4 separate regions of the Homo sapiens genome follow, and regions 2, 3 and 4 are each linked to region 1. The links are contacts of gene promoters, found by promoter capture Hi-C in blood cells and fetal thymus (Javierre and others, 2016). All regions are on one chromosome and are shown on one strand. The core of a region is centred on a gene start or on the middle of the fragment in contact, and the rest is flanking DNA. Distances in the headings are between cores, read along the strand shown.

What was found. Contacts are between HindIII fragments. The CHiCAGO score rates a contact against its expected background, and 5 or more counts as called.
Region 2: a contact is called between a fragment that was not itself captured here and the fragment with the promoter of SPIN3 in region 1, in 3 of 17 cell types (total CD4 T cells, naive CD4 T cells and non-activated CD4 T cells). The highest score is 6.0, in total CD4 T cells.
Region 3: a contact is called between a fragment that was not itself captured here and the fragment with the promoter of SPIN3 in region 1, in 12 of 17 cell types (non-activated CD4 T cells, naive CD4 T cells, activated CD4 T cells and 9 more). The highest score is 12.0, in non-activated CD4 T cells.
Region 4: a fragment that was not itself captured here is called in contact with the fragment with the promoter of SPIN3 in region 1 in 1 of 17 cell types (total CD4 T cells); the score reaches 5.1 in total CD4 T cells.

What each region holds. Positions count from the first base shown.
Region 1 is chrX:56,993,727-56,997,236 of GRCh38, reverse strand. SPIN3 (spindlin family member 3) reads left to right here and starts at 1,696. Exons shown (of 2, transcript NM_001010862.3): 1 at 1,696-2,021; 2 at 2,288-3,510. The coding sequence starts at 2,290. The coding sequence ends at 3,066. RefSeq lists an enhancer at 1,665-1,764. The HindIII fragment of the contact is 2,350 bases long and covers 1,073-3,422 here.
Region 2 is chrX:56,782,596-56,786,105 of GRCh38, reverse strand. The region is part of intron 2 of NBDY (negative regulator of P-body association); the gene reads right to left. Among named protein-coding and RNA genes, the nearest start is that of NBDY, 55 kb to the right of the region's middle. RefSeq lists enhancers at 2,658-2,737, 3,397-3,510. The HindIII fragment of the contact is 3,817 bases long and covers 1-3,510 here.
Region 3 is chrX:56,800,518-56,804,027 of GRCh38, reverse strand. All of the region lies in intron 2 of NBDY (negative regulator of P-body association), which reads right to left. Among named protein-coding and RNA genes, the nearest start is that of NBDY, 73 kb to the right of the region's middle. RefSeq lists enhancers at 446-585, 3,085-3,154. The HindIII fragment of the contact is 1,866 bases long and covers 1,020-2,885 here.
Region 4 is chrX:56,818,295-56,821,804 of GRCh38, reverse strand. NBDY (negative regulator of P-body association) reads right to left here. Exons shown (of 3, transcript NM_001348129.2): 3 at 2,626-3,510. Among named protein-coding and RNA genes, the nearest start is that of NBDY, 91 kb to the right of the region's middle. RefSeq lists a silencer at 1,355-1,649. The HindIII fragment of the contact is 3,504 bases long and covers 32-3,510 here.

The sequences.
Region 1 (3,510 bases), core at 447-2,946:
GAAATCACACTTACTGATTTCAAACATACTGCACAGTTACAGTAATCAAAAAATAAATGTGGTTCTTGCATAAAGATAAATTAAAAACGTGGTTTTTGCATAAAATTCTATGAAATAGAATTAAGAGTCCAGATATAAGCCTATACATCTGTACTAAATTGATTTTCAACAAGTATGCCAAGACAATTAAAAAGGCTAAGAATTGTCTCTTCAACAGAAGGTGCTGAGACAACTGGATATCCATGTGCAAAACAATGAATTTGGTCCCCTTCATCACACCATACATAATAATTAACTCAAAATGGGTCAAAGACATAAATATAAGAGCTAAAAACAAACAAAATTTTACAAGAAAATATAGGGGTACATTTTCATGAACTTGGATTTGGCAGTGTTTATTTAGGTGTGACTCCAAACGCACAACCAAGTTTTAAGCTTTTGTGCATCAAAAATACTATCAAGAAAGTGAAGACACCCCACAAAACGGGATAAAATATTTTCATATCATATATCTGATAAGGTTCTCTCATCCAGAATTTAAAAAGAACAATTAACAGCCCTGCTACAAACAATTCATTTAAAAAATGAACAAAGCACTTGAAATAGACATTTCTCCAAAGATACACAAATGTCCAACAAGCACACAAAAAGATGCTCATCCTCATTAGTCATTAGAGAAATGCAAATTAAAACCACAATTAGGTACCACTTCATACCCACTAGGATGGCTGTAACGATAAAACTGATTGAATCACTTCTAAAATGTCTTTCTCCACAGATTTATGATCTCACAAATTCCTGTTTTAATTATAGCAATTGTTCTAAGTTTAGTGTCTAGGTTATTCTGTTCAAGTGAACAGAATAATTCATGCGCAAGCACAATTTATAGGTATTTAACAATTAAACGTCTGAAGATAGGAGGCAACGGCAAAATTATGAAAAATCCTAATGCTTAATTTTATGAAGCTACTACAAAACATGTTCTCAGAAAATATCTAAAAAATTGAGCAAATGTTTATTCTACATGGAAATGAGCAGGACATGAAAGTGCATATTCAAAATTATCCAAGCTTTGTAAGAGCTTAGAAAAAAGGAAAAGGAAATAGTGTTAATATTTCACTGTGAGCCCTGGAAAATGGGAGGCCGGCTTAGTTAATTATTTTCTCTTCATGTCAATTTTCTGAATTTTACAGTGTCAATATTGTGCATGCAATTCTTTTGCAATCAGGGGAAAAGAAAAGAAATCCTCAAGAAGTTAAGTCTGGGAATGACAAGTCAGTAAAAATTACGTAGATTGGGTCAAGATGGCAGCCTGAACACTGAGCAGTAGCGCATTTCTCTTGTCCTACCACAAATCCCCTTCAATGGAGGGTGGGGGGACGCGGGGAGGGAGGGGAAAGGAAAGGGCTAATTCCTGAAAGGTGGAAAGCAGAAGGGGCAGGGGCGCAGAGGGTTGAGGTTAGGTGAGGGGAGGGGCGCGTGCTAAACCAGAAGAGGTAAACCAATGCAGTGAGAGAGAGGTGGTTGTGGGCTCCACAGCTTCTGATTTGGAGGAAGCTGCGAGACCGAGAGCCTAGGAGCACCTTCCACGCCCAGGGCTGTGGTACAGGTTGGTGGGGGAGGGGCGCCACGCGGTGTTTGGCAGGAAGGGGAGGCCTCTCTACTGACCGGAAGCTGCGCTAGAAAAAGAAGGAGGAGACTGCGGCGCAGCAGCGACTAGTGGGAGTCCGATGTGGGAGAGGGGCTGCGGCCACCGCCACCGCCGCCGCCACCAGGAAGGCGGAGGACGCAGGAGCCAAGAGCAAGGGACGCCGCCACGGTCATCTTCGCCTGCCCCGCCGCCCTCTTAGAGACACTCATTGCCTATGGATCATCCTCTCCCAGCTTTTGCAAGCACCGGGCTGCTCGCCCGCTGATTTTCCTCCTCCATAGGCTCACTGCGGAGGCAACGGCGAGGTGTCCGATTTGTGCACTTGAGGCCCGCAATCCGGGACGGTGGGGAATCTGCGCCTCCTGGCCGGGTAGTGTTGGAAGCAGGGCGAGGGGAATGGGGAAACGCTTCGTATTTCACCGAACCGCAGATCTTAGCCAGACTGAGCTGGGGAGGAAGGTTACTGCAGGCACTCAGCCAGGGTGCCTTGATTTCCAGCTTTGCTATCTAGCTTTCGGGAAAAACAGGTGTGGGTTTACTGGGTGCGCTGATTAGGAGAAAAAGCTCTCCGTGTTATGCATTGATTTTGTTAATTTCCTTTCTCGGTCCACCTGGCAACTGTGCTCCTCTTCGCAGGCATGAAGACCCCGTTTGGAAAGGCAGCTGCAGGGCAGCGGTCCAGGACGGGCGCTGGCCACGGCAGTGTGTCTGTTACCATGATAAAGAGGAAGGCTGCACACAAGAAGCATAGGAGCCGACCCACCTCCCAGCCTCGGGGGAACATCGTGGGCTGCAGAATTCAGCACGGATGGAAAGATGGAGATGAACCTCTAACACAGTGGAAAGGAACCGTTCTGGATCAGGTACCTGTAAATCCCTCTCTGTATCTTATCAAATATGATGGATTTGACTGTGTTTATGGATTGGAACTTCACAGAGATGAAAGAGTGTCATCACTTGAAGTCCTTCCTAATAGAGTTGCATCATCTAGAATCAGTGATACACACTTGGCAGAAATAATGGTTGGCAAAGCAGTGGAACATATTTTTGAGACAGAGGAAGGTTCCAAAAATGAATGGAGGGGGATGGTCTTAGCTCAGGCACCTGTCATGAACACATGGTTTTACATTACCTATGAGAAAGATCCTGTATTATATATGTACCAGCTCTTAGATGATTATAAAGATGGTGACCTCCGCATCCTTCAAGATTCCAATGATTCTCCTCTGGCAGAGAGGGAGCCAGGAGAAGTCATAGACAGCCTGGTAGGCAAACAGGTGGAATACGCCAAAGACGATGGCTCCAAGAGAACTGGCATGGTCATTCATCAGGTAGAAGCAAAACCCTCTGTGTACTTCATCAAATTTGATGATGATTTCCATATCTATGTCTACGATTTGGTAAAAACATCTTAGAGGTCATCTTGAAATTTGCCAAATATATGAGACTCTAAATCTGTAGACACAGAAAGTCTTGATTGCTTTCCAGTTTGTAAGAACCATCTTCTCCCTTTTTGCACGTTTTGCTTGGCAAAAAAATTGGAACTTCTGCCCTCTCATACGTTTTTGGAAGAAACCTTTTGCCCATCTGTCCAACCTTTTCACTGGTTCCTCTCCGCAATTTAACTGATTAGTGAGAAGGGTAAAGTCTGACATCCATTGGCTCATACTTTTTTTTATCTTGGGTGGTGTTAATAGATTAAAGGTAGCTGAACACCTCTCACCTCACTCTTTTTGGCACTTGGACTCTACACTCATTGAGGTGTGAAGCTTGCTGAGATATCCCATGTGACTGGCTGGGTAAGTGTCTTTGCAATCTCAAATCTCCCCCAAGTGGCTTCAAAAATCTAACTTGGGAAA
Region 2 (3,510 bases), core at 454-2,953, 210 kb after region 1:
GGATGAATCAGACACCAGAGAAAAGAGGGAATCAGCCACCCATGGCAATATGGAGAGAGGGCAGAAAGGGGAGGGAAATGCCAATTTTTCCTCACGGGGTCAGCTAGAGTCCTTCTAATTTCCTTAGGAAAAGTAAGCCTGTTTTCCCTGAGGGTGTCCCCGCAACCAGTCAACCCTGTCTTCCAGGCTGCTCCTGACCTCCCCAAACAGAAGTGGACAAAATGTAAAGACAGTGAAGGAGAAAAAAGTGAAAGGAGGGAATCTCCAAAAGTACACAAAGAATCAGAGAAATCAATGAGGTTGAGAGGGAACTGGAATGCAGAGTGCACCAAATGAATAGCTGGCAGCCCTGTGAGTGACTTCTTGTGTCCTCACAGAAAAAGAGCCACCAGCAAGAAGAAAGTGTCAGCCCCTTAAGCCCGAGTCTGCACCGCGACTGCATAGAGGCCTGTTGGTTCAGGAGGCTGCCCTGCTCTCTACTGCCCCAACCCCAACCCCATCCCGCACACACCATCAGCAAATATTGGGAAGCCAGACAGGAAACAACAAGAAAGGTAAACAAGAAGGAAAGGGAAAGCTGAAAAACTGCCCCCTGAGAATTGCCTAGACGACTGTACCCGGAGGTGAATGAAGGTGTCTGGCCAGACACTTGTGAGTGTGCGTGGGGATACGTGTATTTGTCTGAGGAACTATGGAAGCACAGATGAAGATGGGAAAAAGTTGAAGCGTGATGGGAGTTAAAAGTTAAAAACGAGGTCCTCTGACACTCAGAGTCGCAATGCCACCCCAAAGACACAGTCCAAATCTTCCTGCATTCTTTTCTTCTCCCTTTGTCCCTAGGAAGGGGCAGAAGCACCCCCTGGTGCATGCTACCTACATGTGAAAAAAGAATCCGCATTTGTTGACAAGTGACAGAAAGGGGGTGACTCCTGTTCCATGGTCATGTGAGTCTTCTTCCTGGAATGCCCTGGGAGTGCAGGCCCACACCCGAGATTGATGTTCCTCTTGTGAGAGTGGTTCACACTCTCATGAGTGTGAGAATCATTACCCGTGGCATGAATTTTCTGTCCTATGAAACTCTGCTCATTCCCAGTGCGGCCTACACATCCAGGAAGATTTGTAACAAGCAAAGACAGAAAACATTTGCAATATTTGAAGAGCTGTGTGTTCCATGCTGCTGCCCAGGCACTGAGCGGCATGGGTAGCATATGTAACCTTTAGAGCAACGCGGTCATGGCTTCGCATCCCAAGAAGCGGGCTGTATGATGGCCCGCGTCAGGATTTCTTACGTCTGCCTGGAAACCCTAAAGAGCCGGCAAAATTTGTCCTCGACCGACTCATTCATTTTTAGGGCTGAATATCCCGCAAGCACCAGAGTTCAGCTTGAGGACCCCAGAGAGCTCTGTATCAAACCAAGGCACAGTTGCCCTACCACCATCCCACCCAACACATTCCAGGATCCACCTCTACTTCCACACGCAGAACAGGAACAAAGACAGGCCCAGGAGAAGGCGAGCACTGTCTGGAACCTGGCTACCCATGCACTTATGCAGAATGACCAAGATGCCGGGGCAAATAACTGGTGAACCACCACGTTCCAGTGAGCACGCATGCTCAGTCAGACATAACAAGTGGCTTTCTCTCCAGGACAGCCACCTGTAAAACAACCTGGAATACCCCTCCCACCCCTGGGCACAGATGAGTGCCTGGGCTCCAGAGAGAGAGAGGGAGCTGAAGGCCTCCAACAGGAGTCCTTCCAGTCCAGTCCCATCCCAACAAACATCCAGCCAAACTCCTTGCTGCTCCATGGGTCAACAATGTGCGGAAGCCTGTTGGACCGGACTGCATTCCATACAAGATTTGGTCCCTTCCCCAAGAGGAAGAGTGCTACCTAGGGACAAGTGTCGTGCACCTCAGCATACGGCCTGGTCTCTTGCCTAGGGGGAGCTGAGCACATTCCTAGAGAAATCTGCAGCAGCCTGCATGCAGGGCCACACATCCACACACCTCTCCCCCTGTACCCACTCACACTGCCCCCAGTGCGACCTACCCCCACCATGCCACAGCCATAAGGGTGGGATGTATTGAGGATAGGCTCCTCTGGTTCACTGGGACCCCTGCCCAGAGAAGAATCCAGAAGAAGGAGGGAGGCAGAGAACGCTCCTACTGTTGCACCTTCCCCCAAAGTGACCACGTAGGTGGGGAGCCCTGCTGTAGATGAGGTGGGTGCTCTTTGGCCCGTTTCTTTCTTTGTTTCTTCGCTTTGTGTGTGTGTTTTTGTTTTATTCTGTTCGCAACAAATGGAGAAAGACAAAGGCAAGGGAAGGGAAGGAAAAGACGTGACTGTCATCTGTGGAGCCACAGTGCCATCCAGCGGAAGGTGTTTCTGAACATGACAACAGGCTGCAGGGACACTTGCCTTCTGCCAGGCACAGAGATCCGCGAAAATGTGCGGGACTGGGTGGACTCTGCCTAAGCCAGGGTTTCCCCGACTGGGGTTTAGAGCCCTAGAACAAATCGTACCTGCCATTGGAACCGCTTGGAGAAGCAGCTACTCTAGAGGCCCCGAGACAGATCAGCCAGGCAGCCTGAAGACCCGTCAGCCCACAGAGTGGAGCTGCACCAGCAGCCATTTTGAGATACGCATAAGGGAAGCCACTGGCCACTGACAGCCAGAAAATGGGGCCGTTTAATCTGGTCTCTTTTGTGGGCAGTTCTGGGATGCCCTTGGCTGGGGCCACAGTGGGGCAAGAAAGCCCCTATCCACCCAGGAAACAAAGGAGCTTCGGCGTGTTGAGTGTTGGGCGACTCATGCCCGGCAGTTTCTGGAGACTGCCAGGGGAAGCCATGGCTGGCCGCCCCGACTGCCCTTTCTTACATACAGCTGTGGAGACAGGCCGCCATCCTAGGAATGAGGGCAGGCCAAGAGCCAGCAAGGAGTTCCTCTCTTGTCCCGCCTCAGTTTGAGGGCCACACGCCACCATTTACAGCCCCATTTACAGCCCGAGTGGAAGACATTGTGGGCAGTTTCGTGCCTGAGGTGTTGTGTGTGTCTGTGTACGATAATGCTTAAACCCGCACATTTGTACTAGTGTGAGCTTACTTCTGTGTGTGTGTGTGTGTCTGTGTGTATCTGTGTGTGTGTCCGCTTAGGCGTGTTTAATGTGTGTGTTTGTGTCTGTGTGTGCATGAGTCTCCATGTGCGTGTGTGTTTGTGATTTAATTTCTGATTGGGGGGTCCCTTGTGAGTGTATGTATTGTGTCTGTGTCTGTGGTCTGTGGGTGCCTGCCTCTGTGAGTGAGAGTGGGCAAATGGGCATGTGGCGGAGACACCCTGCAAAAACTGAAATCCGGATCAATGTGTTCACATGGCTGGACTGAAAAAAAAGGAGACACGGGACAACTTGCCAAACTTCCTAATGGCTCAGGATTACACACCTAGTGCATCCACGAACAGAACAGGAAATAACAGCAAGCCATGAGGAACTGGGTAAAGGATCTGTTCACCAT
Region 3 (3,510 bases), core at 703-3,202, 190 kb after region 1:
CCACAGCCCCAAGGGTGGGATTTCTTGAGGATAGGCTCCTCTGGCTCACTGGGACCCCTGCCCAGAGAGGAATCCAGAGGGAAGGAGGGAGGCAGAGAGCCTTTCGCATGTTGCAGGTTTCCCCAAAGAGACCATGTAGGTGGGGAGTCCTGCTGTAGATGAGGTGAGCGCTCCTTGGCCGGTTTCTTTCTTTCTTTCTTTTCTTTTTGTTTTGTTTTGTTTTGTTGGAAGCAAAAGGAGAAAGAGAAAAGCAAGGGAAATAAGTGACTGCCATTTCTGGAGCCACACTGCCATCCAGCGGCAGTTGTTTCTGAACACGACCGGCTGCAGGGATACTTGCCTTCTGACAGGCACAGACTTCAGCGAGAATATGTCGGGCTGGGTGGACTCTGACTAAGCCAGAGTTTCCCCCATCGCGGTTTTAAACCTTTGAAGGAAGTGTGCCTGCCATTTGGACCCCACGGAGAAGCAGCTAATCTAGAGGCCCAGGGACAGAGCAGCCAGGCAGCCCCAAGACCAGTCAGTCCAGAGTGCGGAGGTGCCCTGGCAGCCATCTTGAGGTGGGCTTAAGGGAAGCCACTGACTACTGACGGCCGAGACTGGGGTCGTTTACACTGGTCTCTTTTGTGGGGAGTTCTGGGGTGCCCTTGCCTGGAATCACGCTGGGGCCAGAGGTCCCCTATCCTCCCAGTGAACCAAGGAGCTGTGGGGTGCTGTGGGCGGGACGACTCCTGCCCGGCAATTCCTGGAGATGGCCAGGGGAACCCATGGAGGGCCGCCCCTTCCTGCCCTTTTTTCGGAGAGGGCTGTGGAGCCCGGGTGCCATCCTGGTAATGAGCAAGGGCAAAGGGCCAGCCAGGAGTTCCTCTCTCGTCCAGCTTCAGCCTGGGGGCCCCACACCGCCACCATCTCTTTCGTGCTCCTGGGATTTCTCCAGCACTCATGCCCAGCTGCCTCCAGTTTCCAGAAACAGATTCCGCTCGATGGCACTATGGCTCTACAAAGGCCAACTACAAGCTTAACCCTGCCCCTCCAATCCGACGGCCTCCACCCTTTCCAATGTGAAAAAAAGAAAAGGGAAAGAGAAACAAAAAAAAGACAGGGAGGATAAAAAGGAGCCAGCCACCTGGTCTCAGGTTGACCACCAAACTTAAGGGACCCTACGACCTAGGACCAGTAGGCAGGAGACACTGCGGAAATCCTCTTTATGCCGCCAGCCTTTGCTTTTCCTTTGGCCCTCTCCAGGTTTCATGGCTCATGCTCATGCAGAAAAATAGAAGACAAATGATACATAATCATGGCCACTGGGAAACCACAGGAAGACTGGGATCATGGGGCTGCCGCCCCAGGACAAGGTGCTGGTCACCCAGCTGAATTACCCAAGGTTTTGCTGCAGGACTGGTGGTTCTCCCAAAGCCTGGAGCTCCAGATAGAGTTTACCACCTTGGGCTGGCACATGGAGGTCACCAAAATGAGCGAACAGCTCAACAGGCAGTCACAGGGCGTGTGGCAGGAATCTCCCTCAGAGGGGATACTCAGCAACTGACTGAAGTCTGACTCTGTGCAGGCTGTCCTGGCTTTCACATGGGGTGGGGGGGAGGGGTGACATGAGGGTGGCTTAGGGGAACTGGGGAAGGCCACCACGCAACACAGATTCCCATGGCATCACAGAGGGCCAAGGGTCCCAAGGGGACTGTCTGCCTCTACCCAAGGTGTGGTCCCTTTTTAAGCAGGTTGACCCAGGAGGCTCCAGTTTCACACTGGCTGCTGGGGCTTATCTGATAACAGACTTCCCGCATTCATTCTCAGGAGAAGGCCTTAGGTGCCCAATCAACAGCATAATGACCCAGGCCTGGAGCCAGGAATCCTCACCCATAGCCCATTGCCTGTGGCCGACTGAGAGCCTTTATGGGAGAGTTCGTGGGCAGTCTGGTGGCTATGGCGACACATGTGTGTGTGCGTCTGTGTGGGTGAATGCTTGAGCCCGCACCCCTGGGCCTGTGTGAGGATTTGTGTGTGTGTGTGTGTGTGTGTGTGTGTGTGTGTGTGTCTATGAGTTTGTGAGTGTGCATGTGTTAGTGTATGTCTTTGTGTCTGTGTGTGTATCTCCCTGTGCATGTGTGTTTGTGATTATATTTGTGGTTGTCGGGGTTTCCCTGTGAGTCCATGTGGTTGTGTCTGTGTCTGTGGTCTCTGGGTGCCTGCCTGTGTGAGTGAGAGTGGGCAAATGGGCACGTGGGAGAGACAGCCTGCCTATACACACTGAAATCTGGATCGTTGTGTTCACATGGCTGGATTGAAAGAAAAGACAAAGGGGGACAACTTGCCAAGGCTCCTGCTGGCTCAGGATTACACATTTAGAGCATCCACAAAGAGAATGGGAAAGAATGGTGAGCCATGAGGAACAGGTTAAGGGGTGGGTTCATGGTGACATTTCATGAAAAGTAACACATTGGCGCCTTTGTGGAACACCAGAGGGACTGAACTGGTGACCTTCATATCTGCTCCTTTAAGAACAAATGAGGCCTTTCTCACTTTTGTTCTGCAAAGGGGCATCCTGCATCACCAGGAGCAGAGGAAGAAGCAGTCTCAGTATAATGCTTGACCCGCCAAGAGCCAAAAGTGAAAGGAAAAAGAGAAGAAAGAAGAGAAAAATGAGAAGGAGAAGGAGAAGGAGTAGAAGAAAAAGAAAAAGAAAAAAGAGGAGGAGGAGGAAGAGGAAGAAGAACCAGAAAGACAATAAGAACAAGAAGTGGCAGCTTCACGCCACAGCAGCTGTCCTGAAGGACCTAGTTCAGGGGTGCCTCACTGCATGGTGGCATACACAACAAGAGGCAAAGAGAAACCTGTGATGTCCCGGTGAAAGGACACAACACCAAGAAGCTTCTTGTTGATGGGTTCTTTTCCGAGTGGTATCAAGGGCTTTGATCTACAAGTAGGCCTAGAGAAGCTACAGAGGACAGAGGTGCAGGCTGAGCCATGCCCTCCAGATGTCATCAGCGCACTGCAAGGGGCCACGGGCTTCTAATCTACAAGGCCTGGGTAGGGAAGTACCCCGGAAATGGGTGGGAGGAGAGATGTAAAACGGGGAGGAAATGGATACCAGAGAAAGGAGGTAATGAGCCACCTATGGCAACACTGACAGAAGGCAGATAGGGGAGGGGGATGCTGCTTACACCCCCAGGGTTCAGCCCGGGTCCTTCTGATTTCCTTAGGAAAAGTAGGCTTACTCTCCCTAAGGACATTCCTGTGCCCACCCGACCCTGCTTTTGCAGGCTGATCCTGAACTCCCTAAACCAGAAATTGATGAAAAGTAAAGAGTGAAGAAGAAAAAAGTGAAGGAAGAAAAACTCCAAAAGTACACAAAGAATCAGGGTGAGCAATGAGGTTGAGAGTGAACTGAAATGCAGGATATCCCAGGTGGAAAGGTGGCTGCCCAAATGGCCTCTTGTGCCTTCGTACAAGAAGAGTCACCTACCAGAGAAAAGCATCAGACCCTTAGGCCAGGGT
Region 4 (3,510 bases), core at 534-3,033, 180 kb after region 1:
TTGGGGGTTTGAGGAAGTCCAGTACTAAGCTTTTTCTTCTTCCCCTCATAGATGTGTATCTTTCTCCATGCTGTGCTACTTAGAGTTGGGGGAGGGGTGATGTGCATAATGTAAAACTGTCCTTTTTCCACTCTATTATTTTTTCCCCTTTGGAAATGGAGTCTTGCTCTGTCGCTCAGGCTGGAGTGCGTGGCGCAATCTTGTCTCACTGCAAACTCCGCCTCCCAGATTCAAGCGAATCTCCTGCCTCAGCCTCCCAAGTAGCTGGGATTACAAGTGCCTGCTGCCACATCCGGCTAATTTTTGTATTTTTAGTAGAAACAGGGTTTCATCATGTTGGCCAGGCTGGTCTCAAACTCCTGACCTCAAATGATCTGCCCTTTCTCCACTCTTAAATGCATCTTTCTTTATTTGCTACACCCAGGTGCTGTAATCTCTCACTTGGTTTCTTTAGGCCTTGTAAAGGTAATTTTGCGCATGAATAGTTGTTCAAATGGATACTTCTGCAAGGTTATGAGTGCTGAAGAATTCCATTTTGCCATCTTGCTGCATAGGAATTTAATAAGTTGGGAGAGGCTGGCCAGGCATGGTGGTTCACGCCTGTAATCCCGGCACTTTCGGAGGCCAAGGGGCGGGCGGATCACCTGAGGTCAGGAGTTCGAGACCAGCCTCAACATGGAGAAACCCTGTCTCTACCAAAAATACAAAATTAGCTGGGTGTGGTGGTGCATGCCTGTAATCCCAGCTACTCGGGAGGCTGAGGCAGGAGAATTCCTTGAACCTGGGAGGTGGAGGTTACAGTGAGCCAAGATTGCACTATTGCACTCCAGCCTGGGCAACAAGAGTGAAACTCCGTCTCAAAAAAATAAAATAAAAGTTGGGAGAGGCTGCCTTGGGAGGTGCTAGCCAGACATCTATTGTTTTAAACAACTTGAGATATGCACATATAATACAATCCGTGATTTAAAGTGTACAATTCAATGGTTTTGGATATTTATAGATAAGCATAGATATGTGTAAATATCACTACAGTCAATTCTTATGCATTTTCATTAACCCTGAATAAAATCACACAGTCCTTAGACATCAATTCTCAATCATAACTTAAGGGAAACTCCATCCTTAAGCAAATATTTTTTCTGAACCTATAGACTTGCCTCATGTGGACATTTTATTTATATGAAATTATATAATATATGGTACTGTGTGACTGGCTTTTTTCACATAGCATAATGCTTTTGCTTTTCCCAGACCACCAGGCAAGAATTATTTTCCTTTTTTTTTTTTTTGGCATAATGCTTTCAAGGTTTATTCTGGCAGTATGTATACTTATTTCCTGTATATGACTAAATTAATATTCCATTGTGTGAATATACATTTTGTTTTCCATTCACCAGTTGATGGGCATTTGAGTTGTTTCCACATTTTCCTAGTACAAATATTTCTGCTGTAAACCGTCCTGTACAATTTTTGTTTGAACACCTGTTTTTTAGTTATTTTGGCTATGTATCAGGAGTAAAATTGCTGGGTAGCATGTTATTTCTTTTTTTTTTCTTTTTTTTGAGATGGAGTCTTGCTCTGTCATGCCCAGGCTGGAGTGCAGTGGTGGGATCTCGGCTCACTGCAACCTCTGCCTCCCAGGTTCAAGGGATTCTCCTGCGTCAGCCTCCTGAGTAGCTGGGCTAATTTTTTATATTTTTTAGTAGAGATGGGGTTTCACCATGTTGGTCAGGCTAGTCTCGAATTCCTGACCTCAGGTGATCCATCCACCTCAGCCTCCCAAAGTGCTGGGATTACAGGTGTGAGCCACCACGCCCAGCCATTATTTTTAACTTAGAGAGGAACCACAAAATTGTTTGCCCAGTGGCTGCACATTTATCATTACCAGCAACAATGCCGCATGTTCCTGTTTTCCCACATTCTAACATTTATTATTTTGCTATTTAAAATAATAATAATAATAAGTATCCTACTGGGTATAAATTGCTGTCTCTTTGTGATTTTGATTTGCATTTCCCTGATGACTAATAGTGTTGAGCATCTTCTCATGTGTAATTTGTGATTTGTATGTCTTCTTTACAGAAGAATCTATTCAGATCCTTTCGTTATAAAATTGGTTTATTGTTTGTTTTATTATTTAGCGGTAATTACTGTTTATTTTATTTTATTATTTTGTTTTATTTTTTGAGATGGCGTCTTGCCCTGTTGCTTAGGCTGGAGTGTGCATTGGTGCAATTTTGGCTCACTGCAACCTCTGCCTCCCAGGTTCAAGCTATCCTCCCACCTCAGCCTCCTGAGTAGCTAAGATTACAGGCATACACCACCACACCCTGCTAATTTTTTTTGTGTGTGTATTTTTAGTAAAGATGGGGTTTCATCATGTTGGCCAGGCTGGTGTCAAACTCCTGACCTCAAGTGATCCCCCTGCCTCAGCCTCCCAAAGTGCTGGGATTACAGGATGAGCCACCATGCCTGGTCTTATATATTTTAGATACAAGTCATTTATGAGACATATTATTTGCAAAAATAATCTTGCACTGTGGCTGTCTTTCAAATTTCTTGACTGTGTTCACTGAAGCAAATTTTTTTTCAATTTTAATTATGTCCAGTTTATCTTTTTTTTCCTTTATTAACTTGTGCTTTGGTGTAAGAATTAAAAATCTAATACTTAATTCAAGGTCACAAAAATTTATTCTATATTTCCTCCCAAGAGTTTTATAGTGTAACCCTTATATTTGAGTCTTTGGCCTATTTTGAGTTAATTTTTGTATTTTGCATGAGGTAGGGGTGGAAGTTTTTTGTTTTTTTGTTTTTTTTTTGCATGTAGATACCAAGTTGTCCCAGTACCATTTATTGAAAATAGTTATTTCCCCTTTTGTCTTGCCTCCTTCTCAGAAGTTAATTGGCTGCAAATTAACTTTTGTGAGGGCTTATGTCTGGACTTTGGATTCTATTTCATTGATCAATATTTATATCCTATGCCAGTACCACATAGACTTGTTTATTGTAGCTTTGTAATAAGTTTTAAAATTTGGAAATGTGACTCTTCAAACTTTGTATACTTCAAGATTGTTTTGGCTATTCTGGGTCCATTACATTTTCATATGAACTTTAGAATCAGGTTATAAATTTCTTCAAAGTAGGCAACCTTAATTTTGATAAGGGTTGCATTGAATAGTTTGATTATTTTGAAGAGTGTTGTCATCTTTATAATACTGTGCCTTCTGATGCATAAAATGCCTTTCACCAGATGTCCTTTTAAAGAAGTCTGTGTTTACTGTTTGTGATGTTCAGCCTGGCTCAGAAGTTTTAAAACTCTAATGTGTGATTAGTAATATTATACAATCTTTAAAATAACTGTCTATAATTTATTAAGTGTGCATAACATAACTCTAGAATATACATAAATGTCACCATACCTCCATTTGTGATTTTTCAGATTCTTTAATTCTGATGCTAGGGACTAATTTCAGAGGATTGGGTAAAATACTCAGGTTTCACAATCTCTCT